Linked DNA regions of Homo sapiens: all the other regions are linked to region 2. The links are contacts of gene promoters, found by promoter capture Hi-C in blood cells and fetal thymus (Javierre and others, 2016). All regions are on one chromosome and are shown on one strand. Each heading gives the region's core, a stretch centred on a gene start or on the middle of the fragment in contact. The rest is flanking DNA. Distances are from core to core; before and after follow the strand shown.

Region 1 (6,692 bases), core at 1,374-3,873, 380 kb before region 2:
CCAAGGTACAAACTGGAACAGCCAGGGTGAGTGCCAGCACACAGGATGGCTTCCTCATCATAGGCCAGAGTCTGGCCCTGGGTTAGCAAGTTCAGGGCAGCCTACAAGAGGAATGAGCTGGAAAGAGCTGTGGCCAACCCAGGGAGGCCCCAAATACACCAAGTCCCAGGTCCTCCTGCTCTTGTCACCTTTCTACAGTGGTAAGACAAGACACATTGTCTGAACAGTCCCAGTTCAGAACTTCTGTCGTGGAGCCTGTAGTGCTGCAAAGGTTGAAGACAGTGGCTTATACCCAGCTCAGTTCTTTATTTTCTCTCTTTCTCTCCTTCCTTCCTTCCTTCCTTCTCTTTCTTTCTTTCTCTTTCTTTCTTTCTTTCTCTCTTTCTCTTTCTTTCTCTTTTTTTGAGACAGTCTCGCTCTGTCACCCGGGCTGGAGTGCAGTGGTGTGAACTCAGCTCACTGCAAGCTCTGCCTCCCGGGTTCACGCCATCCTCCTGCCTCAGCCTCCCGAGTAGCTGGGACTACAGGCGCACACTACCACGCCCCGCTAACTTTTTGTATTTTTAGTAGAGATGGGGTTTCACCGTGTTAGCCAGGATGGTCTCAATCTCCTGACCTTATGATCTGCCTGCCTCGGCCTCCCAAAGTGCTGGGATTACAGGTGTGAGCCACTGCACCTGGCCTTTTTTTTTTTTTTGACATGGAGTTTCGCTCTTGTTGCCCAAACTGGAGTACAATAACACGATTTCGGCTCACTGCAAACTCTGCCTCCTGGATTCAAGTGATTCTCCTGCCTCAGCCTCCTGAGTAGCTGGGATTACAGGAGCACACCACCATGTCCAGCTAATTTTGTATTTTTAGTAGAGATGGGGTTTCACCATGTTGGTCAGGCTGGTCTCAAACTCCTGACCTCAGGTGATCCACCTGCTTCGGCCTCCCAAAGTGCTGGGATTACATTTTTTTTTTTTTTTGTCATGTGTCTGTTGCCAAGGGAATAAGGTTGGGGGGAGGATCAGGCAAGGGCGTGATTTATATACATATATATGTGTATATATATATATTTTTTAATTTTTTAATTTAAGGACAGGATCTTGCTATGTTGCCCAGGCTCTTGAACTCCTGGGCTCAAGCAATCCTCTTGCTTCAGCCTTTCAAAGTGCTGGGATTACAGGCATGAGCCACTGCACCTGGCCAAGCTCAGTTCTTTCTGGGGGTGGGCTTGGGAAGCCTTCCTCAGCAGTGATCCAAAGGCCTAGGACAGAGGAGAGGGGGTGCAGACAAGAAGGAACAAGGCCTCAGCCTCCCATTCTTGGCAAATCTAAACCTGGCAACCAAGATGATGATATTCTCATTTCACAGAAAAGTCTACTTTTCTCAGCTGGGGAGCAAGTGTCAGGAGCACTGGGGCCAGACTCCCTCCCCAACCTGGCCCTGCTCATTTTCCCCCGTTGCCTGAGGACCCTGGGGATGGAGGAAGAGCATCAGACCAGGGGCAGGGTCTATTCTGGGCCAGCACGTGGAGCGGAGGCAGAGCTGGCCTCAGGCCCTTGCCTGATCCTCCCTCCCCTTATTCCCTTGGCAGCAGACACATGACATAGAAATCACTGGTTCCACCAAATACTGCACAGCCCAGATGCTGCTGGCCTGATCAGGGCCAAGCTGAGTCACCACTTTAGGATACGATTCTTGCTTTTTGGACTATGAATGCACCCTCATCACCCCATGCTCAACCCCCAACTGAAGACTGAGGTTACAGCAGATCCGTGGATATCACAGGGTGATGAGGCACTAGGCCACCTGCTGCCTATTCCCTGGCACTTCATTCTTCTGATAATGGAGTATGAGAGAGAATGGGACATGAGGTGGACCCCGATCAGGCATGTCATAGACAGGAGGGACACATACTACCACTGGGCATGGTGCCCTAGATAATGACCCAGAGGGAGGTTGTAGGTCTCGACCCTGGGGTCCAAGCTGATGAGGAAAGGCAAGAAAAAAAGAAGGGGCCAGGCATGGTGGCTCATGCCTGTAATCACAGCACTTTGGGAGGCCAAGGTGGGCAGATCACTTGAGGTCAGGAGTTGGAGACCAGCCTGGCCAACGTGGTGAAACCCTGTCTCTTATAAAAATATATATATATATTAAAAAATTAGCCGGGGCCAGCCACAGTGGCTCACTCCTGTAATCACAGCACTTTGGGAGGCCAAGGCGAGTGGATCACCTGTGGTCAGGAGTTCAAGACCAGCCTGGCCAACATGGTGAAACCCCGTCTCTACTAAAAATATCAAAATTAGCTGGGCATGGTGGTGGCACATGCTGGTAATCCCAGCTACTCAGGAGGCTGAGGCAGGAGAATCGCTTAAACCTGGGAGGCGGAGGTTGCAGTGAGCTGAGATCATGCCATTGCCCTCCAGCCTGGGAGACAAGAGTGAAACTCCATCTCAAAAAAAAAAAAATAGCTGGGTGTGGTGGTGCACACCTGTAGTCCCAGCTACCCGGGAGGCTGAGGCAGGAGAATCGCTTGAACCCAGGAGGCAGAGGTTGCAGTGAGCCAAGATCACGCCACTGCACTCCAGCCTGGGTGACAGAGCAAGACTCCATCTAAAAAAAGAAAAAAAAAGAAAAAAAAAAAGGAAAGAAAGAAGGGAAAGCAGGTAGGATGTCTTGAACAAATAGGTGGATATAGGCTCCAGAACTGGTGGTTGTTGGGAAAAGTGGGAAAACCTTCTGCATGGGGTTGCCTGGGTGAGCTGATTTCCTATTAGGTCCTCATTCCTGCTGCCACCAAGATAAAGTGATGGGTGGCATGGAGATTTCAGCTGTGTCCTTGGATGTCATGTGCTCTGCAGTCCTCATGATGATAACAAGAGTCCATCCAGTCCATGCTTCGATGCTGGCATGACTAAAGGAACAGGGATGTTATCGAATGGGAGGGCCACGTGGTGCCCTCGTGGGCTTCCCCAAGCAGCTGACCAGACCTGGAAGCACCTTTGTCTAAGGCCCTACGAGCAGCCTAGTTAATCCTTTTCCATTCCCCCATCCCACTCACTTGTATCCCACTCTGCCTTTGCCATACTGAATCCCATCCTTGGAAAGTCAGGAAAGCCCTAAGATCTCTAGGCTCCAGCATAAGGCAGGTCCCCAGTATAATGACTGACTCTTGTCCCTTTTCTTCTTCTTCTTCTTCTTTTTTTTTTTTTGAGATGGAGTTTCACTCTTGACGCCCAGGCTGGAGTGCAATGGCATGATCTCGGCTCACCACAACCTCTGCCTGTCGGGTTCAAGTGATTCTCCTGCCTTAGCCTCCTGAGTAGCTGGGATTACAGGCGCCCGCCACCACGCCCATTTTTGTATTTTTAATAGAGACGGGGTTTCACCATGTGGGTCAGGCTGGAATGCAACTCCTGACCTCAGGTGATCCGCCTACCTCGGCCTCCCAAAGTGTGGGATTACAGGTGTAAGCCACCACGTCCAGCCTACTTTCTTCTTTTCACATGATAGGTATGAACTGGTAATGGAATAAAATAGGCCGGGCGCAGTGGCTCACATCTGTAATCCCAGCACTTTGGGAGGCTGAGGTGGGTGAATCACCTGAGGTCAGAAGTTCAAGACCAGCCTAGCCAACATAGCAAAACCAAGTCTCTACTAAAAATACAAAAATTAGCCAAACATGGTGGCACGTGCCTGTAATCCCAGGTATTCAGAGACTGAGGCACAAAAATCGCTTGAACCCAGGAGGCAGAGGCTGCAGTGAGCCAAGATTGCACCACTGCACTCCAGCCTGGGGGACAGAGTAAGACTCTGTCTCAAAAATAAAGCAAAATAAAATAAAATAAAATAAATCGTCATTGTATGATGATACATTTGGTACTCCAAACTATCAAGTTGTGGCCAGGTGCAGTGACTCATGCCTGTAATCCCAGCATTTTGGGAGACCAGGGTGGGTGGATCACCTGAGGTCAGGAGTTTGAAACCAGCCTGGCCAACATGGTGAAACCCCTTCTCTACTAAAAATACAAAAATTAGGTGGGCGTGATGGTGTGCACCTGTAATCCCAGCTACTCAGGAGGTTGAGACAGGAGAATGGCTTGAACCTGGGAGGTGAAGGTTGCAGTGAGCCGAGATCACACCACTGCACTCCAGCCTGGCGACAGAGCAAGACTCCATCTCAAACAACAACAACAACAACAACAAAACTATCAAGTTGTAACTTCAAAACTGAAATTTATTTATGTATTTATTTATTTTGAGACGGAGTTTCGCTCTTGTCACCCAGGCTGGAGTGCAATGGTGCGATCTCAGCTCACTGCAACCTCTGCCTCCCGGGTTCAAGCGATTCTCCTGCCTCAGCCTCCCAAGTAGCTGGAATTACAGGCCCCCGCCACCATGCCCAACTAATTTTTGTGTTTTTAGTAGAGATGGGGTTTCACCATGCTGGCCAGGCTGGTCTCAAACTCCTGACCTCAGGTGATCCATCTGCTTCGGCCTCCCAAAGTGCTGGGATTACAGGCATGAGCCACGACACCCGGCCCAAAACTGCAATTTATAGTGCACTGAGCAGCAAAGAAAAGTGACGAGAGCACCACTTACGATCTCTGTTCCAACAACTCGACTCTGCTGTTGGAACCCAAAAGCAGACACAGGCACCATGTAACAGATGAACCAGGCTACATTTCAATAAAACTCCATGTCTGCACACTGAAATTAGAATTTTAGATAACTTTAATGTGTCACAAAATAGCCTCCATTCGATTTTTTTTCATTGTGGTTCACGCCTGTAATCCTGGCCCTTTGGGAGGCCAAGGCAAGAAGATGACTTAAACCCAGGAGTTGGAGACGCAGCCTGGGCAACATCAGGAGACCCTATCTCTACAAAAAAAATTTTAAATTAGCTGAGTGTGGTGGTGCGCACCTGTAGTCCCTACCCTTTGGGAGGCTGAGGCAGGAGGATCATTTGAGGCCAGGAGCTCACTGCACTCCAGCCTGGACAACAGAGGGAGACCATATCTTGGAAAAAGAGAGAGAGAGAGAGAAAAAGAGAGATGGAGGGAGAAGGAGAGAAATGTAAAAACTTTAGAAAAACTTCAGTGCTTCTTAGTTGGTTTAAAAAAAAAAATGCCAGGCATGGTGGCTCATGACTGTAATCCCAGTACTTTGGGAGGCCGAGCAGGCGGATCGCAAGATCAAGAGATTGAGACCATCCTGGCTAACACAGTGAAACCCTGTCTCTACTAAAAATACAAAAAATTAGCCGGGCATGGTAGCGGGCGCCTATAGTCCCAGCTGCTCAGGAGGCTGAGGCAGGAGAATGGCTTGAACCCTGGAGCCGGAGCTTGCAGTGAGCCCAGATTGCGCCACTGCACTCCAGCCTGGGCGAGAGTGCAAGACTCCGACTCAAAAAAAAAAAAAAATCCTTGGGAGGCTGAGGCTGGAGGATCCCTTGAGCCCAGGAGGTTGAGGCTGCAGTGAGCTGTGATCCCACTACTGCACTCAGCCTGCATGACAGAATGAAACCCTGTCTCAATCAATCAATCAATAAGGCCGGGCACAGTGGCTCACGCCTGTAATCCCAGCACTTTGGGAGACCGAGGCGGATGGATCATTTGAGGTCAGGAGTTCAAGACCAGCTTGACCTACATAGTGAAACCCTGTCTCTACTAAAATACAAAAATTAGCCAGGTGTGGTGGCAGATGCCTGTAATCCCAGCTACTTGGGAGACTGAGGCAGGAGAATCGCTTGAACCCAGGAGGCGGAGGTTGCAGTGAGCCAAGATCACACCACTGCACTCCAGCCTGGGCGACAGAACAAGACACCCTCTGAAAGAAAGAAAAGAAAGAAAGAGAAGGAAGGAAGGAAGGAAGGAAGAAAGGAAGGAAGGAAGGAAGGAAGGAACCATTCTTGACTTGTGGGTTATACAAAAACAGGCAGGGTTCCACTCCTGGCACTAGGTTTGTTCTTGTGTTTGTTCTCTGTTCAGGGTTATGCCACGCAGAGGGTAGGAGGGGAATTAGTCCATGGTTATGTGTCCTCACAGATGACCACTGAGAAGGCCACCATGCCTAGTCGTCACGACTCTAGGCCCAGCAACTTGCTGAAGACTCTGCAGTGCTGGGGACCCAGGCATTTTTGTGAGGCTGTCCACACCCTATCTGCCTGTGAGGACTGGGCAGTCCATCTGGGGGTCTGGCTGCCTCTCCTGCGTGCTGCTGGGAGGCTAGGCCTGACTGTCATTGCTCTACGGCCACATCCCCAGCCACGCTCTTCTTTTTCTTCTTTCAGCCAGAGGGAGCCCTGAATTCATGCAGAGGAGTTTTTCTACCTTCCATCTGCTTCTGCATATCATCTTGTCTACTTAATGCCCCTCCTTCCGGATTTATAGAACAGTATGCATAATATGACCCCAACTGCATTCCAAAAAATAGATGTAGATGTAAGCTTAGAGATGCAAAGAAACTTTTTGAGAGAATTCACTATGCTTCTCGCGGGTGGTGACACAGTTCAAGGAGGTTCCATGGGGTGTAATGTTTATCTTTCTCTTTTGTCCTTCTGATCATTGAAATGATGCTTTGTGTGTGTGAACATGTATTACTTTTATAATTAAAATAGAAAAATTAATTTGAATGGGACAAATGCTCGAAGTCAAAGTCACCTGTTATAACTGCTGTCACTAACAGGGCAACTGTTTGAAAAT
Region 2 (6,678 bases), core at 1,917-4,416:
GAGCTGGCAGAGCTGCGGCACAGCCAGGAAGAGCTGCTGCAGCGTCTGTGTACCCAACTCGAAGGCCTGCAGAGCACAGTCACAGGCCACGTAGAACGTGCCCTTGAGACTCGGCACGAGCAGGAACGTATCCTTGAGACTGGTAGCACAACATGGCATAGGGACGGGGGCAGCATTCTTGGCCTGGGAAGGAGTACACGACCTGCTCCAGGCCCGTTCCTTAGCTATGGCGCAGAGCGGCGGCTGGAGCGAGCACTGGCTGAGGGGCAGCAGCGGGGAGGGCAGCTGCAGGAGCAGCTGACACAACAGTTGTCCCAAGCACTGTCGTCAGCTGTAGCTGGGCGGCTAGAGCGCAGCATACGGGATGAGATCAAGAAGACAGTCCCTCCATGTGAGTTTTGCATGCAGACTCCCTTTGGGTGGTTCAGGTGGGAGTGGGGTACCTGTCAAGCTTCTTCTCATGGCTCCACCTCACCCTCTTCCCCTCTCCCAGGTGTCTCAAGGAGTCTGGAGCCTATGGCAGGCCAACTGAGCAACTCAGTGGCTACCAAGCTCACAGCTGTGGAGGGCAGCATGAAAGAGAACATCTCCAAGCTGCTCAAGTCCAAGGTGCTATAGGGCCCAAGATGTGGGTGGAGGTGGTGGTTCCTGGGCCTAGTCAGGCCAGGCTGGGCTCAGGCTTTCAACTTGGCCCCTCCCTCTAACCCCAGAACTTGACTGATGCCATCGCCCGAGCAGCTGCAGACACATTACAAGGGCCGATGCAGGCTGCCTACCGGGAAGCCTTCCAGAGTGTGGTGCTGCCGGCCTTTGAGAAGAGCTGCCAGGCCATGTTCCAGCAAATCAATGATAGCTTCCGGCTGGGGACACAGGAATGTGAGTGGGGTCATATGGCCCAAGGTGGGAGGGGTTATCCTCTTTCCTACTGTTCCTCTTATAGTCCCTGTGGTCACCCCTCAGACTTGCAGCAGCTAGAAAGCCACATGAAGAGCCGGAAGGCACGGGAACAGGAGGCCAGGGAGCCTGTGCTAGCCCAGCTGCGGGGCCTGGTCAGCACACTGCAGAGTGCCACTGAGCAGATGGCAGCCACCGTGGCCGGCAGTGTTCGTGCTGAGGTGCAGCACCAGCTGCATGTGGCTGTGGGCAGGTGTGTGGGCAGAGTACTGGGCAAGGTGGTGGGCTTGAGAAAGGCCAGACTAGGCTCCCTGTCCACTTCACCTCACTCACTTCCCTTTGCAGCCTGCAGGAGTCCATTTTAGCACAGGTACAGCGCATCGTTAAGGGTGAGGTGAGTGTGGCGCTCAAGGAGCAGCAGGCCGCCGTCACCTCCAGCATCATGCAGGCCATGCGCTCAGCTGCTGGCACACCTGTCCCCTCTGCCCACCTTGACTGCCAGGCCCAGCAAGCCCATATCCTGCAGCTGCTGCAGCAGGGCCACCTCAATCAGGCCTTCCAGCAGGTACGATAGGCATTAGGCCCTGCTAAGGGTCACGTGTCTCTTGACAAGGCCCACATACCATACATTCTACTCCACCCACCACCTTTGCACCTTCTGGCCCCAGCAGACTGTTCTTGGTTCCCTTTGGCCTCCAGGCCATTGTCCCTGCTGCTTCCTCTTCCTGGACCCCTTTCTTCCCACCTAGCCCACCTTGCTTTACAACTACCCTTCTCAGGAACCCATTTCCCAATCCCCTAGGGTAACTACACAGCCCTACAGGCTCTCTCTGAGTCCCTCTGGAGCTCTCACTAGCCCACCCTGTGGTCATCCTCCCCCAGGCCACACAGTTCAGACAAGCAGACATTCCATCCTGATATTTGCTATAAACACTGCTGCTTTTTTCTCCTCCAGGCGCTGACAGCTGCTGACCTGAACCTGGTGCTGTATGTGTGTGAAACTGTGGACCCAGCCCAGGTTTTTGGGCAGCCACCCTGCCCGCTCTCCCAGCCTGTGCTCCTTTCCCTCATCCAGCAGCTGGCATCTGACCTTGGCACTCGAACTGACCTCAAGCTCAGGTAAGTGGGGACAGCCAGGGATGGGGAGATGAGCTGGGGAGTGGGGCAGTGGGAGGGAGCAGTTTGAAGCTGACGCCCACTTCTGCCTGAATCCTCTCCCTAATTTTCTCCACCAGTCCTTTCTGCCTTCACCCAGAGGGTTCCCTCTGGGCCTCGGTGCCACCAGGGGGCGCTCCCGTCTGCTGGCACCCACCTGTAGCCTGTCCTTTCCCCCCCATCCCCAGCTACCTGGAAGAGGCCGTGATGCACCTGGACCACAGTGACCCCATCACTCGGGACCACATGGGCTCCGTTATGGCCCAGGTGCGCCAAAAGCTTTTTCAGTTCCTGCAGGCTGAGCCACACAACTCACTTGGCAAAGCAGCTCGGCGTCTCAGCCTCATGCTGCATGGCCTCGTGACCCCCAGCCTCCCTTAGCTGCTAAGCCTGCCTTGCCCAGGGGTGGGATGGCACTGAAGGCCAGCAGACAGGCCTAGGCTGGGGCAGGGTCACGGCTGGCCTTTACCTGCTCAGGCCCCCATCTCTGGGGTGTTTGGGGGTCAGGGAGCAGGGAGCACTGGCCGTGGTCTACAGCGTGTGGTAGTCAGAAGGTTTAGCTGGGCCCAGGGCAGGTATTGCGCCTGCTTGGGTTCTGCCATGCCTGGAGCATGACCCTGAGATCGTGACACCACTTGAGTGGAATTTTCCATGTTCCTTTTTACCTCTAATTTGGATCTTTTTGTTTTTGAAAAACATTGAGAAATTCAATTAAATGCTTTTGGAATAAAATGGAGTATGTGTGTGCTTTTGGTTTGTCTTTGGTGTGACTCTCATAACTGCCGTCTGTTCGTTCTCTGCCCATCTCTTGCCCGTGGAGCTCTGTCGAGGCCAACCCAGCCAAGGGGCCGGGTTACCCACTCATCTGCTCCAACTGCCTTCCCAGATCTCCCTTCTCCCTCCTTCTATGGAGTGAGGGTCCAGGGGCCTGCCCAGCACCAGCCTGTGCTCCTGCGAATTTCTGCTCTCTGAGGTCTCCTCGCTCCTTTTCCCATCTGGGTGTTGGAGGCGGAGCCGCCGGCTGGGTTCGGAGCCCCACCCCCAGCTCCCATCCAATCACCGTCCCTCCCTCCGGGGGCTGGGCGGACGGGCTGCACTCCAAGCAGCTAGCTCCTGCACTAGGCTCTCAGCCAGGGATGATGCGCTGCTGCCGCCGCCGCTGCTGCTGCCGGCAACCACCCCATGCCCTGAGGCCGTTGCTGTTGCTGCCCCTCGGTGAGTGCGGGCATCCGGGGCCCGGGCCACACCCCCTTCTCGCCCAGCCAAGCCAGGCTGGGCATAGGGTGTGTGGGAACGCTGGGTGCCAGGGTGGAGAAGAGTTGTAAGGGCTCCAGGAAGGTGTGCTGGTGACTTCAGGACAGAAAGTGAGAGGCACAAACAGCCCCAGTTATGGGAGAAGGACTCCAAAATTTGCATCCCCTCTTATGATAAAGGGAGACATGCCAATGGCAGGACTTATAGACCAGTCGTAGGATCCCTAAGTCCTCTCTGAGGGTCTGGCCTGGATCCCAATACCTCTGCATCCTGCCTTGTCTCTCCAAAAATATTTATCTTTAGAGAGAGTTCGGAGGGCCAAGCAAAGCTTGTCTAAACCGCAGAGAGATGCACCTGCTCCTGGTCCGGGGCCTCTGGACCTCCCTCCCCTCCACCCTGTCCTGACTCCTTTACATGGACCCTTGTCACCCCACCTGCGGCCCCAGAAGCTCAAAGGAAGAGCTGACCTGGGGTACACAACACCCCCTTCCCCTGTACAAATCCCAGTCTGGGTCCTACCTTGAAGGGGGCCTGGGTAGGTAATCCCCAGACTTGCCCTTTAGTTCCCTGGGGCACCCTTTTTCCGCTGAGTCACATCCCCAGAGTGCTCCCAGGTAAACAAGCCCCTGGGGGCTGGGGGATGAGCCTGGCTCATCCTATCTACCATTCCTTCCCCACCCCACCCCCGCCCCACTTCTAGTCCTTTTACCTCCCCTGGCAGCAGCTGCAGCGGGCCCAAACCGATGTGACACCATATACCAGGGCTTCGCCGAGTGTCTCATCCGCTTGGGGGACAGCATGGGCCGCGGAGGCGAGCTGGAGACCATCTGCAGGTACCGGCGGGTGTGAGGCAGTGGCCCAACCTGTGCCACCATTGGGGACTGAACCTTTTATTTCCCAAGCTAAAGTCTCCTTGCCTCACCTAATCCCCCTAATCCCACTCCCTTAACAGGTCTTGGAATGACTTCCATGCCTGTGCCTCTCAGGTCCTGTCAGGCTGTCCGGAGGAGGCAGCTGCAGTGTGGGAATCACTACAGCAAGAAGCTCGCCAGGCCCCCCGTCCGAATAACTTGCACACTCTGTGCGGTGCCCCGGTGCATGTTCGGGAGCGCGGCACAGGCTCCGAAACCAACCAGGAGACGCTGCGGGCTACAGCGCCTGCACTCCCCATGGCCCCTGCGCCCCCACTGCTGGCGGCTGCTCTGGCTCTGGCCTACCTCCTGAGGCCTCTGGCCTAGCTTGTTGGGTTGGGTAGCAGCGCCCGTACCTCCAGCCCTGCTCTGGCGGTGGTTGTCCAGGCTCTGCAGAGCGCAGCAGGGCTTTTCATTAAAGGTATTTATATTTGTAGTAAGCTCCTTCCTTTCTCCTGGCTGTGGCCTTGCTTGCGGCTGGGGCCAGGGACTCCTAGAAACTGATCCTTTGCTTGGATGGAATGGGCGGGGCTGAGGGCCACCACAGGGGCCCTCAATCTTCCTCCTTACAAACACTCATTTCCCAGTGGCAGCGCAAAGCTTTCCATTTCATGCAGGCCCCAAGAGCTCCTCCAGTGGAGACTGGAGATCTGCCAGAATGCACAGTCTTCCTCTACCTTCCTGTGCGGGTTGAGATCGGGAGGGTGGGGTCTCAGCCCTGCACTCCTAGCACTGCCTACCCCTTCTATCCTGGCCCCTGGGGGCCAGGTGAGCTGGTGAAGTGCCCTTGATCTCAGCTCCACCCCCTCCCCAGCCTCTGGGCTCCTGACCATTTCACCTCCTCCTCTCTCTGCCTGTCACCTCAGCCTTCAAGGCATAGCACAGACTATGTGCTCAGTCCCTTCCTCTGGTTTTCTGGTCTATCTGAGGGAGGCCTGTTCTAGAAGGTGGGGAGCCTTTGTTGAAGTCCACATTCAAGCCCCTGATGTGACCTGAAGTGGCAAAAACTGGAGTCACCATAAGGGTTCCTCTGGCCTCTGCTCTCCACAAGCTTGTTCTTTGAGAAGAGGTAGGCAGTGTGTAGTCAAAACAATTGCAGAAGGCTTTCTGGAAGCCGTGGAACAAGAGCATGTGGTGTGCGAGGAGCCCCTCTTCATACCGGTGGAAAGGAAGAGCAAAATCAGCTAGGCAGAGGAATCTGAGGAAGGAGAAAGCCTTCTGGGGGTAGGACCCTCTTCTGATCAGCCTTCTCCCACCACCGCCAGGATCCTATTCCAAGCCATTACCCCACGGTTTACAGAGGCACTGCCATAGTCTCCTCATTGACTTCTATTATCACTCCCTCCACTTTATTCTTTACTTTTTTTTTTTTTCTTGTCACCCAGGCTGGAATGCAGTGGCACAATCTCGGCTCACTGCAACCTCTGCCTCCCGGGTTCAAGCAATTCTCCTGCCTCAGCCTCCCTAGTAGCTGGGATTACAGGTGCCCGCCACCATGCCCGACTAATTTTATATTTTTAGTAGAGATGGGTTTGCCATGTTGGCCAGGCTGGTCTCGAACTCCTAACCTCAGGTGATCTGACCCCCGCGGCCTTCCAAAGTGCTGGGATTGCAGGTGTGAGCCACCATGTTTGGCCTTATTCTTTACTTTCTTTTTTTTTTTTTTTTGAGACAGAGTCTCCCTCAGTCGCCCAGGCTAGAGTGCAATGGCGCGATCTCTGCTCACTGCAAGTTCCGCCTCCCGGGTTCACACCATTCTCCTGCCTCAGCCTTCCGAGTAGCTTGGACTACAGGCGCCCGCCACCACGCCTGGCTAATTTTTTTTGTATTTTTAGTAGACGGGGTTTCACTGTGTTAGCAAGGATGGTCTCGATCTCCTGACCTCATGATCCACCCGCCTCGGCCTCCCAGTGTTGGGATTACAGGCGTGAGCCACCGCGCCCGGCCTATTCTTTACTTTCTAAATTGAAAAACTCAGCCAGGCATAGTGGCTCAATCTTGCAGTATCACCTCCTCTAGGAACTATTCCCTAACCCTGACTACAAGCTGAATCAGAAGGCTCCTCTAGGTCCACACAGCTCCTGGATTCCCTTCTGCCTCAGTACTGATAGCACTAGCTTGTTATTGTCTAGGTACAGGTCAGAATTCCCCACTGTGGATTCCCCAAGGGCAGGAAGTCCTTTTTGTCAGAATCCTCGTTGTGTCTCTAGCATCCAACCTAGGGCTGGATATAAAGGGTGCACTTGTGGGAGGGTGTGGAATGAAAGATAGAACTCCTAAGTCCAGCATGGGTAGTGCTACAGTAAGCAAGAGCTTGGACTGAGAATGACCCCACTGTGGAGGTGTGTCATCTTGGGGTGGCACCTTTACTCTGGGCATACTGCTGGGAAGGATGGTGCTGGGGCTGTATACCCCAGAAGTCTTCCAGAGCTGGTCTTGGATGGCTAGGAGCAGGGGCCTGGCT
Region 3 (6,720 bases), core at 1,833-4,332, 400 kb before region 2:
TGGCTCAGCAATTCCCCAGGAAGGCTCACCCCGCAGGCCAACGCGAAGACACGATGATCCCAAAGACCTTAGTGTCTTGGCGGGGGGAGGGGGAAGAGGTGGGGGACTTTTCCGCTTAGCTTCCCTAAGGGTTGCTACGCGACAGCTCTCGGGCTACGTCAGGGTAAAGAGGTTTGTATGGCCACACCTCGCACCGACCAACTACCCCCGAAACACCCCCTCCTCCCAAACTGCAGGGTGAGCACAGCGAGAGAAAAGGTGGCCCAAGCAGAGGCGAACAACTGCGGTTCTTAAAGCCTTGTTTGAGTTTGGGCCCGCGCCGAGCCACAGCTAGAGGTAGATCCCGCTCCTGCGCGTCCGCTATCAGCCCCAGGATTCCCAGAGAGGCCTCTCAGGCCCTTCAAGACCCCCCCTTCCGGCTTCCCGGCCTACACCTCTGAACCCTCAGGCCCCGGACAGCCTCTATCCCCGCCTTTCGCGGCCCCGGCTCACCCTCTAGCGTCTCGCACTGCACCAGGTTGAGGTAGTCGGCCTGGCTGAGCACCCCGGCCTTCAGGCCGCGCACCAGTCCCTCCAAGTAGCCATTGTCCACGTTAAAGTAAAGCTCCGGGAAGAACGACATGGCTGCTGCGGGAGCGGCGGGACCGGAGAACCAGGACCGGCCGGCACGAATCGCGACTCCCCAGGTCAGCTGACGCTGCGTCCTCAGCGGGCTGTCAAGTGCGTCAGGTGACGCGCAAGCGCCTCACGTGACCATAAGGGGGCGTGGCTCTGAGCGGTGCCCGGCTTCCGGGTGGCTGCGCGGAAGCGCGGTGCAGGCGTGGGCTGGCCCTGCGGCGCCTGCGCGCTAAAAAGAGGAAGTTTGAGGCCGGCCGCTTGGTGGCGCCTGTGGCCGCAGGGATTTGACTGGGCCTTCTCTAGCTTTCCCCGGTTTGCTGCACTTGACGCTGCAGGGCGGGCGGGGTAAAGAAGGGAGCGAGCCCTTCTCAAGCTTGGAAAGTTTCCAGACTGCTGGGCCAGCCTCCTCCCCAGAGGGAAACTGAGGTCCGATTGAGGTAGGAGAATAGGGTCTGGAGGCGGGGAACTTGAGGCCAATACGTGCTGAATTCTGAAGCTGAATCAAGGGAAAACACCAAGGTCTGGGGGCAGGGAACCGGAGGCCAACTAAGGCGAGCTTACTAAAGCTAAACCAAAAAGAAAAACCCCATCTCCCCATGTCCAAGTAACAAAGGATCAAAGGCCACTGTCCCCACAACCCTCCCCCTTCCACCACGTCTCAGTTGAAAGGGAGAGTGCCTTGGATTGGCTGCGGGCCAAGCACGGGCCATCCCTTCATCTGCATAGGGCGCCAATTCACCTTAGCCCCATTTATGCCTTGTGTTCCATTATTGGAACGCTAAGCATATGGGAGTTATTTATATCCTACTGCTCAAGGTCATGGCCAAGGTCTGATTGCAAAAATTCAAAAAGATTGCAACCTCAGGCATAAATGGATTAATTAGCCATGGACCAAACCCTTCATCCAGATAAGGGGTAACGGACAGGGACCGCAAAAGGAGTACTTAAAACCCGGAAAACTTTGTAACTGAGCCCCTTCAGCCTCTTGCTCAGGCCCACTCCCACCCTGCGTAGTGCTTTCTCGCTTTAACAAATCCCAGCTGTCTGCTTCCTTCCTGTGTGTCATTCGTTTGTTACTTTCTGGGTTTTGTTCAATTCTTTGTTCGAAACGCTAAGGACCTGAACAACGCACACTCCTGGCCTTCCCTCTGGTAACAGGATGAGGGGCAGGCTTTGCGTGGAAGTAGCAGCAAGCCCTGGAGCCTAAGGCTTATTTGTTAGCCAGGAGTGATAGCCCCTGTGCCACGCTGCGTCCTGCGTTCCCCGCACTTGCTGTACAAGATTTTCGAAAGCTGGAGTGCGGCTCTTCTCTATTTTTCCCAGGGGCACCAGGACCCCTAAAAGCGCCCGTGTATGTGCCTCCTATGATAGGGTAGCCCAGGCCCTGGGATAAGAGTATGTGTGGTTTCTTGGCTTGGTGACACTCCCACCCCCTCCATGAACCCTCCCTCCTTTGACGGCCACGTTTGAAATAACCACAGCCTTGGGGTTGGTCCCATCCTTTATTCGAGTTTCCTTGCCCCTACCCTAGCCCCGACCCTGACGTTGGCCAGCTAGGTGCGGCTGCAGGGATTCATGGCAGTACCCAGCTTGCGGCAGTAGCAGAAGGCATTGAAGAAGCGGCAGTAGCACGTGGCACATGGGTCACAGCAAGGCACCTGCTGTCCCAGGCAGGACTCATGCAGCCTTACGCAGCGACGTGAGGAGCGGGGCTCGCGGTCCTGCAGGTCTAGTACCTGCAGGGGTGGGGAACCAGCACAGGCCTCTAAAGACAGATCCAGGGATCTTACCTGTCCCAACCTGTGCAGGATGGCAGTGGAGCATGGGAAGGGGTGGTCGGTAGTGTCGTCGCTGGTGAGGGAGTTTGGAGCTGGGGAGAGGAGCTAATACCCAATGCCCCCTCCCAAGGGCCACCACCTTACCCTTTTCCCTGAGCAGTTACCTCTGCCAAGGCCTGAGCCTCCTGCAACAGATCCTCTTCTGCCTGTTCTGCAGTTGTCTTCTTCAGTGGGGCCCGCAGGCCCAGGCCTGGGGCAGAGGATGTGAGGGCAGGAACCCCCATGCACAAAGCACCCACCTCCCAGGGGAGGGTTTGGGAAGGGAGAAAGAGGGTTTATGCCAGGGGAGACTATTTGTGGCCAGAGGGTATTCAGGCCCCGCCCAGTCCCACCCTTGCTCACACTGACCTGGGAGCTCTGGGAGCAGGGCCTGGTCAGGCCTTCTGATGCCCTCCATGGGGGCCAAGCCCATCTGGGCTCCTCGCGTGGCAGGCAGTGCCAGCAGCAGGGCACAGCTCAGCACCGCTGCGGTCAGCATGGCCTGGCTCAGCAGGAAGATGTACCACTTAGTCCCTCCTTATCCTTGGAGTCCCCTCTAGGTGCCCAGATAGAGACCCCACAGAGAGGAGGAGTCCCTGCCCAACCTGAGGACTCACCTCTGCCTCCGGGATTCTTGCCTAGAGAGTTCCCGGCCACCCCGTGCCCTTGGCTTATATGGCAGGGCCTAATGAAGGGCCACACGTGACTGATCCCTGCAGCCAGGCCGTGAAGGACCCTTCCTGGAGGGTGGGGGCACAGTTCAGGCCCTCACTCCCTGAACCTGAGCCTTTTGTTCTACAAGAGGAGTGCCTATCTCCAATTTGGGGTGAGGTTTCCAGGAGCCGATTAAAATTTGGGAGCAAGAGAGGGTGCCCAGGGTCCACAAATTTCCACAGGACAGGGACCTAGGAGCTGAGCAGGGCTAGAACCATTAGCAATAACAAGGCAGGCGGCCCTGAAAGCTTAATTTAATTTGTGGCCCCAGAGATGCTTACTCAACCCCTATGTGGCATGTTGTTTCCTGTGCTTCCAAGAATTCGGGTCAAGGACATTGGAGCGGGTGATGGGCCAATGGCCACTGTTGGGCAGGGGTAGGTGCAGAACCAGAACCTGGGTTTCTTTGGAGGGAAAGGGGAAGGAAAAGCCCACCTAACCAATCCTAGGCCCTCCTGACTACATTTCTGGTCCTCCCCTCCCTTTCTCCCTCCAGGTTTCTCCAAGACCGCCCACTCCTGCTCCTGTCCCCAAACCCCTTTCTGCCTAGGGTTCCTGGAAGCCAAGGAAACAGAACGAACTGTTCCCTGGGTGGGCGAGCCACTGCAGAGTACAAAGCTTTCAGGCCGCCTGCCTCATTAGCACTAATGGCTGCTCCCTTCCGCCCTGTGTCGTCAGGACTGTCTATGCCTGGTCTCATCAGCACAAGGCTGGGGTAAGGACTGCCCTTTTGTGGAGATGGCAGGACATACAGGACCCTGCTGCCCCTGCCTTCCCTCACCCCACTGCAGAGCTGTTTATCACACACGTGTCCATCTGGGAAAGGAATGCAGGCTGAATCAGCTTTGAGAGGATCGCAAGGCCCCAGTGCACAAACTGGGTTGGCACAAGGCAGTGGAAAAAAGATGAAGGGGGCCAGGTATGGTGGCTCACACCTGTAATTCCAGCATTTTGAGAGGCCAAGGTGGGAGGATCACAAGGCCAGGGGTTTAAGACCAGCCTGGGTATCATGGTGAGACCCCGTTGCTACAAAAAATAAAAAAATAGCTGGGTGTAGTGGTGCATGCCTGTAGTAGAGGCTGAGGTGGGAGGATGGCTTGAGCACAGGGATTCAAGAGTGCAGTGAGCTATGACTGCATCACCACACTCCAGGCTGAGCGACAGAGCAAGATCCTGTCTCAAAAAGAAAAGAAGATAAAGGGTGGCCAGGCACGGTGGCTCACGCCTGTAATCCCAGCATTTTGGGAGGCCAAGGTGGGCGGATCACTGGAGGTCAGGAGTTCAAACCAGCTTGGCCAATATGGTGAAACCCTATCTCTACTAAAAATACAAAAGTTATTCAGGCATGGTGGCACATGCCTGTAATCCCACCTACCCGGGAGGCTGAGGCAGGAGAATCACTTGTAACACGGGAGGCAGAGACTGCAGTGAGCAGAGATCGCACCACTGCACTCCAACCTGGGTGACAGAGTGAGACTCCATCTTAAAAAAAAAATGCTATTTAAAATGAAATGAAGCAATCCATACTCCCAACATTTATATATACTGGGACATCCAAGAAATTAAAATCACACCTCATTATGTCTTTTTCTTTGAGTCAGGGTCTCACTCTGTCACCCAGGCTGGGCCTGGTCAGCACCCATGCTATGGAGAGCTCTTCATGGTCTGGTGTGGACAGAGTGGGAGTGGAAGATCTCCTCCCACACAGGTGCTCAGTGTCTTACCTCACCTACGGGCAGCAGCTGTCTTCACCTGAGTGTGTGCACACAGGTGTATCAGCCCCATGGGCAGTGATGGACGAGGGCTGAGGCACTCACAGGGCAGCCCATGCCCCGGTCAGGTCCAGTGGGGGAGATATCAAGAAAACCCAGCGCCAAAATGCAATGAGCTGTGATCGCGCTACTGCACTCCAGCCTGGGCGACAAAGCAAGTTGCCGTCTCAAAAAACAAAAACAAAACTAAACAAAAAAAAAAAAACGGCCAGGTGTAGTGATTCACACCTTCTTGAGCCCAGGAGTGGCAACATAGTGAGACTCTGTCTCTACCAAAAAAAAAAAATTTAATTAGCTGAATGTGGTGATGCACACCTGTAGTCCCAGCTACTCAGGAGACAGGGAGGAGGATAGCTTCGGCCCAGGAGATTGAGGCTGCAGTGAGCCATGGTGGTGGTGGCTCACGCCTATAATCCCAGCACTTTGGGAGGCTGAGGCAGGCAGATCACTTGAGCCTAGGAATTCGAGGCCAGCCTGGGCAACATGGCGAAACCCAGTCCCCATTAAAAAAAAAAAAAAAAAAGGCCAGGTGCGGTGGCTCACGCCTGTAATCCCAGCACTTTGGGAGGCCGAGGTGGGCAGATCACAAGGTCAGGAGATGGAGACTATCCTGCCTAGCACAGCAAAACCCCATCTCTACTAAAAATACAAAAAAAAAAAAAATTTAGCCGGGCGTCATAGCGGGCACCTGTAATCACAGCTACTTGGGAGGCTGAGGCAGGAGAATGGTGTGAACCCAGGAGGCAGAGCTTGCGGTGAGCCGAGATCGCGCCACTGCACTCCAGCCTGGGTGACTGAGCGAGACTCTCTCAAAAAAAAAAAAAAAAGTTTCACAGCCGGATGCAGTGGCTCACGCCTGTAATCCCAGCATTTTGGGAGGCCAAGGTGGGCAGATCATGAGGTCAGGAGTTCAAGACCAGCCTGGCCAACATGGTGAAGCCCCATCTCTACTAAAAATACAAAAATTAGCTGGGCATGGTGGCACGCACCTATGATCCTAGATACTTGGGAGGCTGAGGCAGGAGATTTACTTGAACTGGGACCCAGGAGGCGGAGGTTGCAGTTAGCTGAGATCGTGCCACTGCACTCCAGCCTGGTAACACTCCAGCCTGGTAACAGAGTGAGACTCCATCTCAAAAAAAAAAAAGTTTCACTATGTGGGTAATTTTACGGTAAGGAACCAGCCTGATATTCCCAGGACAATGCTTGTTGGCAAAAGGACCTTCAGAAATATGTGGCATGTTCTGGGAGGAGGATTTGGGAAACCCTGGGGGAGGCAGAGCCTCCTAAGTGAGGGTGTGGGCCCGGAACACAGGGACTCTGTGCAGGGAGGAGAAAGGGGAGAGTGTGCATGCTCGTTCCAGAGACCACATGAGGACAGAGAGGGGTGCTCAAACCCTCTCCCTTCTCTTCTTTTTCCTCCTGCAGTGTACTCCCCTTCAAGGGCCCTGTTCCCACCTTGTCCAGGGGAGAGGGTGGGGGGTGCAGGGAAAAACTGCAAGCACCCGTGGCTCTGTCAATCAGGGTTGATTTTGAAACCCCTACCCAGCCCATTGCCCCTGCCCCAGAGAGCACAGCCATGTGTTTCCTGTGAATCATCTGTAGGATTTCCTAAGGCAGAGGTTGCCTGGAGAGGCACGGTCTCCTCAGTCATTCAGGGAGAGGAGAAGATGGATGGGGGTTCTCTCGGGCTGGTGTATTGAGCCCTGAGCTAGAGAGGATCTGTGATTGTTAATTTTGTGTGTCAACTTGACTGGGCCAGGAATGCCCAGATATCTGGTTAAATATTATTTCTAGGT
Region 4 (6,991 bases), core at 2,537-5,036, 450 kb after region 2:
ACCCATCCTGGCTAACACGGTGAAACTCTATCTCTACTAAAAATACAAAAAATTAGCCAGGCATGGTGGTGGGCACCTGTAGTCCCAGCTACTGGAGAGGCTGAGGCAGGAGAATGGCGAGAGTAGTTCTGACATTCTGCTTCTGCATACAACATGAACAATTTTCCTGTATAGCATTGTCTCTTAAGGTTTCCAGAATATGTATATGTACACACACACACACACACACACATATTTTTTTTTTGAGACGGAATCTCACTGTGTCACCCAGGCTGCATTGCAGTGGTGCAATCTTGGCTCACTGCATCCTCCACCTCCTGGGTACAAGTGATTCTCCTGCCTCAGCCTCCCAAGTAGCGGTGATTACAGGTGCCTGCCACCACACCTGGCTGCTTTTTGTATTTTTAGCAGAGACGGGGTTTCACCATGTTGGCCAGGCTGGTCTTGAACCCCTGACCTCAGGTGATCCGCCTGCCTCAGCCTCCCAAAGTGCTAGGATTATAAGCGTGAGCCACCATGCCTGGCCTCCAGAATATTTTTTATAGTCTAGAACTTTGTTTCAGTCTTTGAAAATTTCACATGCCACTGACACTTAGAGAACATAGTTGAAAGATTTGCAAAGGAAAAACTGTGGTGAAGTTATGGATAACACCATGGGTTTTTTCTAATTTTTTGTGGAGATAGGGTCTTACTATGTTGCCCAGGCTGGACTCAAACTCTTATGCTAAAGTGATCCTCCCATCTCAGCGACCCAAGTACCTGGGACTACAGGTGTGCACTACTGCACCTGGCTTTTTCACCACGGTTTTGGAGAATGCAGTATCATTCTGAATTGAAGCTTCTACCTAAGGTCAACATTATTCTCCCATTTAACAATTTTTTTTTAATGGAGAATCTGAAACATGTACAAAAGAAGTGGGTACTATCTTATTTATTTATTTATTTGAGACAGAGTCTCACTCTGTTGCCCAGGCTGGAGTGCAATGGCAGGATCTCAGCTCACTGCAACCTCTGCCTCCCATGTTCAAGCGATTCTCCTGCTTCAGCCTCATGAGTAGCTGGGATTACAGGCGTGCACCACCATGCCTGGCTAATTTTTGTATTTTTAGTGGAGACGGGGTTTCACCGTGTTGGCCAGGCTAGTCCCGAACTCCTGACCTCAGGTGACCAGCCTGCCTCGGCCTCCGAAAGTGCTGGGATTACAGGTGTGAGCCACCGCGCCCGGCCTATCTTTTTTATTTTTAAAATATACAATAGAGTGCTCAAATCATTCCATTTACAATCAACGTTATTGAAGTATGATTTACATTAAATGAATATCCATTTTCATTATGGATATTTGACAAATATAAACACACTTGTAACCACCATCACCATAATGAAGATAATAGAACATCTCCATCATGCCCAAAGAGATTCCTCATAACCCTTTCTATCAGTCCCCCCATATCCTGGTCCTAGGCACCCACTCATAGACTTCATTATAGATTAGATTTGCCTGTCTAGGATTTCAAGGAAGTGGAATCAAAGAAGTGTGGACTCTTCTGTGTGTGTGCTCTCTTTTTTATAGCGTGATGCTGGTAAGATTCTTCCACACTGTTCATGTCTTGGGGGTCCGTTCTTTTGTGTTACTGAGCAGCACTCTATTAGATAGATGTACCATAACTTGTTTATCTCTCTACCTGTTGATGGACAGGGATTTCTTGGATAGGTCTTTAGATTCACTGATCTTTTCTTTTGCAGCATCTAATATGCTGTTAAGTATATTTAGTAAACTTTTCATTTCTCTTTCTTTGTTGTTCTTTTTTTTTTTTTTTTGAGACAGGATCTTGACCTGTCCCCCAGGCTGGAGTGCAGGGGTGTGAGCATGGCTTATTGCAGCTTTGACCTCCTGGGCTCAAGCAGTCCTCCTGCTTCAGCCTCCTGTGTAGCTGGGACCACAGGCTCATGCCACCATGCCTGGCTAACTTAAAAAAAATTTTTTTTTGTAGAGATGGGATCTCAGTTTGTTGCTTAGGCTGGTCTCAAACTCCTGGGCTCAAGCGATTCTCCCACCTCAGCATCCCAAAGTCCTAGGATTACAGGCGTGGGCCGCTGTGCCTGGCCTCATTTTTGATATTGTATTTTTTAATCTCTGAAAGTTCCACTTGATTCTTTTTCATAACTTCCATTTTTCTCATGTTCATAGTTTTCTATAAGCACATTTATTTTAGCTTTTTGAACATCCTTATCTTCTGTTCCCACCATCTTTGTTTTTTCTGGGTTTGTTCTCTTGACTCATTTTTATCCTTATTCTGGGTCACATTTTCCTTCTTCACATGTCTAACCATTTTTGTTTGGATGCTGTGGCTATTTGGAATTCCCCATTGTTGAGTGCTAGACTTCGTTGGTTTTGCTTTTTAAACTTTGGCATGCAGTTGGGTTACTTGCAGTTCAGATTGATCCTTTCAGGGCTTGTTTAAGCTTTCTTTGGAGTGGGGTTAGAGTAGCTTTAAGTCAGGCCTTCTCAACAGTAGTGCTGTGACGTTTTGGCATTCTCCAACTATGTGACATTTTGATAATTCTTTGTTGTGGACCCTGTCCTTTGCATTGTAGGATGTTTAGCAGTGTCCCTGGCCTCTTCCCAGTGGATGTCAGTAGCACTCCCCTCCTCCCACCATTCTTGCCAACTAAAAATGTCTCCAGACTGCCACGTCTTCCTTGGTCTCGAGTGTGTAAAATTGCCACCTGTTGAGAACCACTGCTCTAAGGCTGTTTAGCCAGACAGTTACTGTAACCTTTCTGGAGTGTCTGCTGAGAGCTCTAGGTGCTCAGCAGGGTTTCCCTTGTCTGGCTGATCAGAACTTGAATGTTTCCCAGGCCTCTGAGAGCTCCGGAGATTGTTATCACTCATGCAACCTTTGCTCGGCTTCACAGAGTATTACCCTGTGTGTGTGTGAATGTATTAACACAGACCCTAGAGGAACCCTGTGCAGCATTCTGAAGGCTTTTTTTCTGTGTAATTTCCTCTCTGATTCTCTGCCTGGCAAGTTCCAGCTGCTTCCACTTCCCTGAACTCGTTTCCTGTCTGTTTAACTCAGCAAGACTGCCGTGCTCTGTGTCACCTCTTACCCTATACTGTGGTCTGGAAAGGGTCTCCTGGCTGATAGCCAGAGCAGGGTAAGGGTTACTTGGTTTGTTTCCCTTCTTAGGGAGCAAACTGTGTTGCCTCTTGCTCAACATCTGAAAACACTTGTTTCATATATTTTGCCCAGTTTTCTAGTTGATAACAGCCGGAGGGTAAGCCTGATCCCACTTATTCCACTATGGCCAGAGTGGAGATTGATTCATTTATTTATTTTTTTTTGAGACAGTCTCACTCTGTTGCCTAGGCTGGAGTACAGTGATGCGAACACAGCTCACTGCAGCCTCGACTTCTGGGCTCAAGTGATCCTCCTGCCTCAGCCTCCTGAGTAGCTGGGACCACAGGCAGGCGCCACCATACCCAACTAATTTTTTTGTTTTTTTAAATTTTTATTAGAAACTAAGTCTTGCGGCTGGGTGCAGTGGCTTATGCCTGTAATCCTAGCACTTTGGGAGGCCGAGGCTGGCGGATCACCTGAGGTTGGGAGTAGCAACCAGCCTGACCAACTTGGAGAAACCTGTCTCTACTAAAAATACAAAATTAGTCAGGTGTGGTGGTGCATGCCTGTAATCCCAGCTACTGAGGAGATTGAGGCAGGAGAATTGCTTGAACCTGGGAGGCAAAGGTTGCGGTGAGCCGAGATTGCGCTATTGCACTTCAGCCTGGGCAACAAGAGCAAAATTCTGGCTCAAAAAAAAAAAAAAAGAAAAGAAAAGAAACTAGGTCTCGCTTTGTTTCACAGGCTGGTCTTGAACGCCAGGCCTCACACAGTCCTTCTGCCTCAGCCTCCCAAAGTGCTGGGATCACAGATGGGAGCCACTGTACCTGGCGAGATCATTTATTCTTGAAAATTTATCCATTTTGACGGCAGGGAGACTGATCTGCAGGGCAGCCTTGGCCATGAAGTATGCTGACTCTGCCTCCAGGCAGCATTGTTCACACACACCTCAGCTTAGGCCAGGCCCCTCATATGATTTCTTATTAAAAAAAAAAATTTTTTTTAGATAGAGTGGCTCTGTCGCCCAGGCTGGAGTGCAGTGGCATGACCTCGGCTCACTGCAACCTCCACCTCCCGGATTCAAGTGATCCTTCCACGTCAGCCTCCTAAGTAGCTGATATTACAGGCATGCACCACCACCTGGCTAATTTTTGTATTTTTAGTAGAGATGGGGTTTCACTATGTTGGCCAAGCTGGTCTTGAACTCATGACCTCAAGCGATCTGCCTGCCTTGGCCTCCCAAAATGCTGGGATTACAGGCATGAACCACCACGCCTGGCCAATTTCGTAATACTTTTCTTCATAGCGCTTACCACTGCAATCATTAAATCATTATGTAGTTATGTATTTAATGTCTGTATCCCCACCCAGCTGAGGCATCCTGAGGTCATGCACTGCGTGGGTTGTATTAACTATTCCATTCCGTTATTTGCTCCGGGCCTGTCATGTAAAGGAGTTAGGTAATTTTTGTAAAGTGAGTAGATTGTCAGTTGTGCTTCATCCATAATCCCTTGTAAATGTGACTTTGTTTCCGATCCTCAGCCTGACAAGTGGCTTCCTCATTGCCAAGTTGGGTGGTCTTTCCTCTGCTTTTCCTCTCTAACCACTGCCGCTTTGGTACTTCTGCCATTCCTTCCTTCTTGAAACTCTCCCTGGACCTTAGTGACATCTCTTCATCTTGGTTCTCCTGTGTTGCTTTCTTTCTGCTCCAGATGTATACTTTCCAAGGTTCTGCTCTCAGCCCTTTTTAAAAGTGGCATCTGAAGTTGCCTGTTCCCCAGAGCTGGGTTACATGCTGAGGCTTGTGGAGAGCCAACCCAGGGAGCAGCGTGTGTTCATCCGTCCATTTTGTTCATTTGGAAAGGGCTTAGGAAGCTCCTGGGGTGGCTACCTGCTTCAGACTCCCCCACCCCGTGCCCTTATACATTAGCAGTCACACTCAAAATACCAGGCCCTCAAGAAGTACTTGTTAAAATGCACTGGACCATAAAGCTTGAATTTTTTTTTTTTAATTTTTATTATTTTTTGAGACAGTCTCACTGTATCACCCAAGATGGAGTATGGTGGGGCAATTTCAGCTCACTACAACATCTGCCTCCCGGGTTCAGGCAATTCTCATGCCTCAGCCTCCTGAGTAGCTGGGACTACAGGCGCGTGCTACTACACCCGGCTAATTTTTGTATTTTTAGTAGAGACAAGGTTTCACCACATTGGCCAGGCTGGTATCGAACTCCTGGCCTCAAGTGATCAGCCCAGCTTGGCCTCTCAAAGTGCTGGAATTACAGGTGTGAGTCACTGTGCCTGGCTCTTGATTTTTATTTTAATGAAGCAATTTGGACTATAAAGCATTTTAAGTTATATAATTGGTTTAAACATTCAGGAGATAGAATTGGCAGAGTGGGTGATCAGTGGGTTGTAGGGTGACAGAAATCAATAATTTATCTAATGTGTGTTGACTGTTACGGGGCACTAGACCTTGTGGGTGCTGGGGTACAGTAGTGGACAGGCAGTCAGCGGTCCTGCTGTCCTGGAACTAGTAAATGATGCCCAGATTCCTGGACTATGTGACTCATTGATTGATTGAGGCAGAAACCCTGGAGGGAGGAGCAGGCGTGTTAGCTGGGGTGGGTGGGATGAGTTTTGGACAGTGTATTCCAGTTGGAGTTTGATGTGACATCAGAGAGGATGGGCAGGGCTTCTCGGGAGGGTGGTCTCTGTGGCAGAAGACAGAAGTTTCTTCTTAAGCTCCTCCACGTGATACTGTCATGGAGCACAGGTGAGCTTCATAGGAAGTGTGCTTTTTTTTTTTTATCTTCATCATCCCGACCACCACCACATGAGACAGAGCCCATTCACCCGTTTTACTGATGAGGCAACTGATGGTCAGAACGGAGGGCTCAGGGATAGGAAGTGAGATCCAGGCCAGGCTCCAGCCTCGAGCTCGAGGTTCACGCTGTCTCTGTTGTGCTCTTCTATCAGCTGCTCTCTTTCTTTTTTTTTTTTTTTTGAAATGGAGTCTCACTCTGGCCCAGATTAGAGTGCAGTGGCGTGATCTCGGCTCACTGCAACCTCTGCCTCCCAGGTTTAAGTGATTCTCCTGCCTCAGCCTCTCAAGTAGCTGGGATTACAGGCACCCATCACCACGCCTGGCTAATTTTTGTATTCTTAGTAGAGACAGGGTTTCACCACGTTGGCCAGGTTGGTTTCAAACTTCTGACCTCAGGTGATCTGCCCATCTCAGCCTCCCAAAGTGCTGGGATTACAGGCGGGAGCCACCGCGCCCGGCCCCTGTCAGCTGCTTTCATGCTTCTCTTTTCCTTGTGTCATCTGTGAGACTTGTGCTCTGTGTAGGGGAAATGAGTGGGCTTTGTCAGATTATAATTCATGAGGCATTAAAAGTGTTTACAGTTAATTCTCCCTGATGAATAGCCCCTTCCAAAGTCTATTTTGGCTCTTGGCTCATTAAAAATTATAATTGTAGAAGTAGCAGTACATTACTGAGGTTTAGAAAACAGTTAACAGAAGATCCCTCCCAAATCCTACTCTTCTCTAAAATCCTACTGTCCTAAAACAACTGTTATTTAAGAGATTGTTTGGTGACAAGGCGCTTTCATTAAGGGAATTTGCCATAGTGATCTGGGGATTCTAAGTCATGGATCTCAATTTTGGCTGCCAGAGCCTAACTCACAGTAGCTGGAAGATCATCAGAGAACCTTGTTGTCTTGCTTTGGCTTTCCCTCCCTCTCCCTGCAACCTAGAAGTATTTGACATACCAGCATTCTGTTTTTGCTTTTCAAATAATTTTTCTAATTTAGTGGTTAATAGTTTAATTGTTAATTTATATCTCTCTAATTGCTAATAGGGATGAA

The links. Contacts are between HindIII fragments. The CHiCAGO score rates a contact against its expected background, and 5 or more counts as called.
Region 1: a fragment that was not itself captured here is called in contact with the fragment with the promoter of NRN1L in region 2 in 1 of 17 cell types (naive B cells); the score reaches 5.0 in naive B cells.
Region 3: a contact is called between the fragment with the promoter of AGRP here and the fragment with the promoter of NRN1L in region 2, in 1 of 17 cell types (naive B cells). The highest score is 5.2, in naive B cells.
Region 4: a contact is called between a fragment that was not itself captured here and the fragment with the promoter of NRN1L in region 2, in 1 of 17 cell types (total CD4 T cells). The highest score is 6.5, in total CD4 T cells.

Annotation. Positions count from the first base shown.
Region 1 is chr16:67,497,745-67,504,436 of GRCh38, forward strand. It overlaps ATP6V0D1-DT (ATP6V0D1 divergent transcript), which reads left to right. Exons shown (of 4, transcript NR_184227.1): 4 at 6,281-6,692. Among named protein-coding and RNA genes, the nearest start is that of AGRP, 18 kb to the left of the region's middle. The HindIII fragment of the contact is 7,622 bases long and covers 1-6,434 here.
Region 2 is chr16:67,881,719-67,888,396 of GRCh38, forward strand. NRN1L (neuritin 1 like) reads left to right here and starts at 3,167. Exons shown (of 3, transcript NM_198443.2): 1 at 3,167-3,264; 2 at 4,004-4,136; 3 at 4,256-4,650. The coding sequence starts at 3,186. The coding sequence ends at 4,541. EDC4 (enhancer of mRNA decapping 4) reads left to right here. Exons shown (of 29, transcript NM_014329.5): 22 at 1-127; 23 at 236-391; 24 at 494-609; 25 at 711-876; 26 at 961-1,147; 27 at 1,240-1,459; 28 at 1,850-2,013; 29 at 2,238-2,781. The coding sequence ends at 2,430. RefSeq lists enhancers at 2,259-2,438, 2,744-3,253, 3,254-3,761. The HindIII fragment of the contact is 1,303 bases long and covers 2,327-3,629 here.
Region 3 is chr16:67,480,465-67,487,184 of GRCh38, forward strand. AGRP (agouti related neuropeptide) reads right to left here and starts at 3,083. Exons shown (of 4, transcript NM_001138.2): 1 at 3,053-3,083; 2 at 2,805-2,937; 3 at 2,561-2,646; 4 at 2,107-2,354. The coding sequence starts at 2,934. The coding sequence ends at 2,172. ATP6V0D1-DT (ATP6V0D1 divergent transcript) reads left to right here and starts at 930. Exons shown (of 4, transcript NR_184227.1): 1 at 930-1,055; 2 at 3,646-3,864. It overlaps ATP6V0D1 (ATPase H+ transporting V0 subunit d1), which reads right to left and starts at 693. Exons shown (of 8, transcript NM_004691.5): 1 at 493-693. The coding sequence starts at 622. RefSeq lists enhancers at 244-483, 644-693 and a silencer at 804-973. The HindIII fragment of the contact is 2,406 bases long and covers 990-3,395 here.
Region 4 is chr16:68,329,668-68,336,658 of GRCh38, forward strand. All of the region lies in intron 6 of PRMT7 (protein arginine methyltransferase 7), which reads left to right. Among named protein-coding and RNA genes, the nearest start is that of PRMT7, 22 kb to the left of the region's middle. The HindIII fragment of the contact is 2,651 bases long and covers 2,462-5,112 here.